Linked DNA regions of Homo sapiens: region 2 is linked to region 1. Evidence: promoter capture Hi-C in human tissues and cell types (Jung and others, 2019). All regions are on one chromosome and are shown on one strand. The core of a region is centred on a gene start or on the middle of the fragment in contact, and the rest is flanking DNA. Distances in the headings are between cores, read along the strand shown. Region 1 holds the start of SMKR1 (small lysine rich protein 1). Region 2 has its middle 47 kb from the start of NRF1.

Region 1 (2,700 bases), core at 119-2,618:
CTGTGATCACACCACTGTACTCCAGCCTGTGTGACAAAGTAAGACCCTGTCAAAAAAAAAAAAAAAAAAGGTAATAGCTCTTTACCTTTAATAGCTCATGGAATGACTCTCAAACCAAGAAATTTTTACTTAATCCTTTTACACGAAACAAACTGGAAAGAACACAGAAACTTAATGATTTCTACACTAGAGTCTAATGAGGAATAAGGCTTTCCAAGGAAAAACAGGCAAAGCACCAGAGGTGAGGTGCAAAGGGCTGTGGGCGCTGAAGGAGCGATGGGGAAGCAGGAGGCAGGGTCCTTCTGATCCAAGCCTCAAAGAAAACGGATCAAGACAGGGAAGGCGCAAGGGGCTTCCAGAAGAACGCGGGTTTAGTGTGGGATGCAGGGTTTTTGTTCGTTTTGTTTGTTGTTGTTTAGCAGAGAAGATATGGCAGAGAAAGCTCGAGGTTGAGGCCCCTTTAGCAAGGGCTCTGTGCGCCCAGCTCAAGCGTGCAGTACTTAGTTTAGCAGACAATGATGCCTCCCTGAGGACTTGGGGCAGGGGCTGGAAGGTCACAGCCCTTCTGGAAAGAGCAGCGAGGGTTGGAAGGAGGTCGTAAGTGACTGGATGAGGGCTGAGAACAGGAATGCTGTTGACAGCAAGGTGGTGGTACCAGGCTCACTCTCTGCTTCCTGAGTCTGCAGAGCAGTGGAGAATCCCGCGCGGGCACCCAGGGTGGCTACGGCAGCTAACAGCTCGGACCCGTCACTGTGGGCATGGCCTGGCGCCCTGACGTGCCACACCACGGTGCCACCCTCCCTTTATTTTCCACATCAACCGTCTGGGTGTGGGGGCTGCTCAACAGGACCACGACCTAAAACCTGGAAAGACGGCTGGCCTGACTCCGCGGCTGCTGCGCCCCCAGCAGGCGCGGACCGCCGGGCACCCCTTGTCCCTCCATCTTTTCGCCACGCGTTGAGGTCGACCCCAGGGAGAGGCGGTGACCTCGGCGCCCGCGCCTCTCCGGGACAGCCTGGGGCTCCACGGCGCGCGCCCTGGCCCCGGGTACTTTAGGGAGACGGGGATTACCATGGCGATTCTCAGCCGAGCAGGCAGGCGTGGTGGACTCTCCCGATCCCGAAGCCCTTAGCATCCACCGGGGCCGCTGCCCCCAGCGCCCGTTCCCCTAGCACCCCCGGCCCCTTCTCGGCCCTCCTCAGGGAACCGCCACGGGCCCAGCCTCACTACGCCTCCCCGCCACGCCTCGCTGGGAGGAGCGCGGCCGGCTCGGGAGGCAGCCAGCCGCGGAGCCGCCTGGACGCGAGGCACCTGCTTGCCCCACGCGGCACCTAGGCCGCCGCAGCTGTGGGCGCTGGGCCGGCGTGCGCCTCGGGGGCGGGGCCGCGCGCACAATCACCGGGCGTGGGGCAGGGCCTCGCCGTGGTTACCGTTGCCAGGGCAAAGCGGCAGCGCGCGGAGGGTGAGCGGAGCGGGGTTCCGGGCTTGCGCGCGCGGGATGGGCCGTCACCTAGTACGAGGCCGACCGCGGCCTCCAGCGCCCGGAAACCCAGTTCGGCGCTTTAGCGTCTGGGTTTGGGCTGCCGGAGCGGCGGGCGCGGGGCGAGGGGGCGGGCGCGGGGCGAGGGGGCGGGCGCGGGGCGAGGGGGCGGGCGCGGGCGGCGCTCCCACTGGGGTGGCACTGGGGTGAGAGCGCAGGCTAGGCCCGCTCACTCGGCCAACCTGGGAGAGATCATCGGAGAAGCTCTTTTGGGAAACGAGCATAAGGACTGTGACGGTGAAGGGAGAATATCATGGGAAATGTTTGCAAAAGAGCCGGATAAAGAGAGTAAGGGCCCGAGAGACTAAAGGGGTGGGGAGGGAGTTCATGTGCAGGTAGGATTGGGCGAGAAAGGTACAGTAGGTACAGTTTTGCCTCCAACCTTGCCAGTTCCAGCCTCCCTCCCTGCAGGTGAAGTCTACACTTCGGGTGGTACGACTCATTCTTTTTTATGACTGGTCATTCCTTTTTTTTTTTTTTGAGACCGAGTCTCTCTCTGTCGCCCAGGTTGGAGTGCAGTGGCGCCATCTCGGTTCACTGCAACCTCCGCCTCCCAAGTTTAAACCATTCTCCTGCCTCAGCCTCTTGAGTAGCTGGGATTACAGATGCGTACCACTATGCCCGGCTAATTTTTGTATTTTTAGTAGAGATGGGGTTTCGCCATGTTGGTCACGCTGGTCTCGAACTTCTGACCTCAGGTGATCTGCCCGCCTCAGCCTCCCAAAGTGCTGGGATTACAGACGTGAGCCACTGCCCGGCCTATCATTCCTTTTTATTCAACAGTTATTGAGCATCTGCCACGTGCCTGACACTCTTCCAGGCCCTGGAAATTGAGCTCTGAATGAGGCAAAGTCCTTGTTCTTTTAAGGGGTGATTTGGGGGAGGTGGTCGTGGCTGAAATGGAGGGCCTGGCAGACATTAAAAGTGATAGGGACAGTATGGCATATTGCATTAAATTGATGTGACCACTGGGTGCTCTTTTAGATTGGTGACTGGGGAAGGCCTCTCTGAGGAGGTGACGTTAAAACAGATCTGGATGACAAGGAGCAGTCAATTATGCCAAAATTAGGGACAGGGGGAGGAGGCTAGACCAAGAAGCAGGAGTAGGGTCCTGGAAGGCTCTGCAAGGATGTGGTGTTTTGTTTGCTTTCTCTTGAAAG
Region 2 (2,717 bases), core at 199-2,698, 62 kb before region 1:
TGGCCAGGCTGGTCTTGAACTCCTGACCTCAGGTGATCTACCTGCCTCAGCCCCCAAAGTGCTGGGATTACAGGCATGAGCCACTGCTCTCGGCCGACTATAAGTTTTCTGAGGCCTCCCCAGCCATGCTGAACTGTGAGTCAATGAAACCTCTTTCCTTTATAAAGCACCCAGTCTCGGGGATGTCTTTATTAGCAGCGTGAGAATGAACTAATACACAATCTAACACAATATGTGATCCTGGATTGGATCTGTCCCATCAGCGGAACAACTGACAAAATTTAAATTAAGGTGTACAGATTAGTTAATGGTATCAGCGTTAATTTCCTGGTTTTGTTAATTGTATCGTGGTTATATATCATGCACTTTAGGGGAGCTGGGTAAAGTATATATGGGTTTGGGTTTTGTTTTTTAGTATATTTGCAACTTTTTTGTAAATCTGAAATTATTTCTAAATTAAACATTTTAAAATGTAAAGAAAAGTATCCAGCCGGGTGCGGTGGCTCACGCCTGTAATCCCAGCACTTTGGGAGGCCAAGGCAGGGGGATCACAAGGTCAGGGGATCAAGATCATCCTGGCTAACACGGTGAAACCCCATCTCTACTAAAAATACAAAAAATTAGCTGGATGTGGTGGTGCGCACCTGTAGTCCCAGCTGCTCGGGAGGATGAGGCAGGAGAATTGCTTGAACCCAGGAGGCAGAGGTTGCAGTGAGCCGAGATTGCGCCACTGCACTCCAGCCTGGGTGACAGAGCAAGACTCTGTCTCAAAAAAAAAAAAAAAAAAAAAAAAAAGAAAGAAAGAGAAGTATTCAGTGGTGATCTTAGAAGAGTAGTTTCTCTGGTGTTTTGGGGACAGAAGCCAAATTACCCCAAGTTAAGAAATGAACAAGAGCTGAAATGATGCAGAGGCACCTTTCTTAAGAAGTTGACTATGAAATGGAGCAATGCAAAGACATCAGTGGGTGGCTGAAGGAAGCCATGTTGGGTACTGTTTTCTTAAGATGTAACTGGACGCTGTCTCCTGGACATCATCCACGTTCTAAAACCTCCAAATTCAACTCTTCTCTCCTCCGTCTGTACTGACATGCTAAAGACCTTTTGGAAATTAATCTGAAAGCAACAGAGGAGCTCTTGATGGATTTAAAGAGGAGACAAAATAATCAGGTTTTTTGCACTTTAATACCAGTTCCGTTGCCAGCATAGATATTGGAGGGTAATGATATTGGAGTCAGGGAAACCATTTAAGAGATTCTTGTAGTTGTCCAAGACAGAGGGATGACAACCTAACCTAAGGCAGTAACAGTAAAAATAGAAAGGAGGAGAAGAAGGGGTAGGTGTGATGGCTCATGCCTGTCATCCCAGCACTTTGGGAGGCTGAGGTGGGAGGATTGCTCGAAGTTGGGAGTTGGAGACCAGCCTAGGCAAAAGAGTGAAACCTTGTCTTTAATAAAAATAATTTTTTTTTTGAGATGGAGTTTTGCCGTTGTCGCCCAGGGTGGAGTGCAGTGATGCAGTCTCAGCTCACTGCAACCTTGCCTCCTGGGTTTAGGCAATTCTCCTGCCTCAGCCTCCCTAGCTGGGATTACAGGCAACCACTCCGATGCCCAGCCAATTTTTGTGTTTTTAGTAGAGACGGGGTTTTGCCATGTTGGCCAGGCTGGTCTTGAACTCCTGACATCAGGTGATCTGCCCACTTTGGCATCCCAAAGTGCTAGGATTACAGGTGTGAGCCACTGCACCTGGCCTATTGATTTATTTATTTTAGAGACAGGAGTCTCACTCTGTTGCCCAGGCTGGACTCGAACTCCTGGGCTTAAGGGATCCTCCTGCTTCAGCTTCCCAAGTAGCTAGGACTACAGGCAAGCATCCCTGTGCCCAGCTTATTTATTTTAGAAAGAGCTTTTGGAAATAAAATGTTCATAACAAAAGTTTTAAATTCAATAGAAGATAAAATTGTGGAACTCTTCTATTAAAGGTAGAATAAAAAAATAAAGAAAATAGGTGGTATGGAATCAAATAACAAAATCAGTGACACAGACCAGGAGGTGTAGTTTCTGGCTAATAAGAGTTCTGGGGGCAGGGTAGGGAAGCAAAAAAGAAAATAGAAGAAGCTTTCAATGAAGAAATGCAAGAAAACCTCCAGGACTGAAGAACATGAGTTTCTAGAATGAAAGGCTCACCAATTAGCACAGTGAACAAATGAAAAAGAAAAAAAAACACCGATCATCAAGGCATATTTTCCTGAAATTTTAGAACACTGGAAATAAACAAAGATCCTGTGGTAGGCAGGATAACTGCCCCTTGCCCCAGGATGTCTATGTTCTAATACCCAGAACCCTGTGAATTTGTTAGGTTATGGCAAGGGGGAATTGAGCTTGCTAATCATCCGATTTTAACACAGGGAGACTATCCTGGATTATCTGGATGGGTCCAGTGTAACCACAAGAGTCCTTAAAAGTTCAAGAGGGAGGCACAAAAGGTAGAACTGGATGAATGGCAGCCTGCGAAGGACTTGGCCCAAGACTGCTGGCTCTGAGATGAAGGAAGGGACCATGAGCCAAGTAAAGTGGGCAGCTTCTAGAAGCTGAAAAGGCAAGAAGATAGATTCTCTCCTAGAGCCTCTGGAAGGAATACATCCAGCCAACACTTAGATGGCCCAGTGAGATCCGTGTTGGACTTCTGATCTACTATAAAATAGTAAGTTTGGCCGGCAT

The links. The method cuts DNA at HindIII sites, captures the fragments that hold promoters and counts their contacts. A contact is called where the count stands out against the background at its distance.
Region 2: a fragment that was not itself captured here is called in contact with the fragment with the promoter of SMKR1 in region 1 in 2 of the 25 tissues and cell types used here (liver and mesenchymal stem cells).

What each region holds. Positions count from the first base shown.
Region 1 is chr7:129,501,199-129,503,898 of GRCh38, reverse strand. It overlaps SMKR1 (small lysine rich protein 1), which reads right to left and starts at 1,368. Exons shown (of 2, transcript NM_001195243.2): 1 at 1,072-1,368. The coding sequence starts at 1,074. RefSeq lists silencers at 1,220-1,559, 1,620-1,669. The HindIII fragment of the contact is 29,122 bases long and covers 1-2,700 here.
Region 2 is chr7:129,563,408-129,566,124 of GRCh38, reverse strand. No RefSeq gene overlaps it. Among named protein-coding and RNA genes, the nearest start is that of NRF1, 47 kb to the left of the region's middle. The HindIII fragment of the contact is 7,858 bases long and covers 1-2,717 here.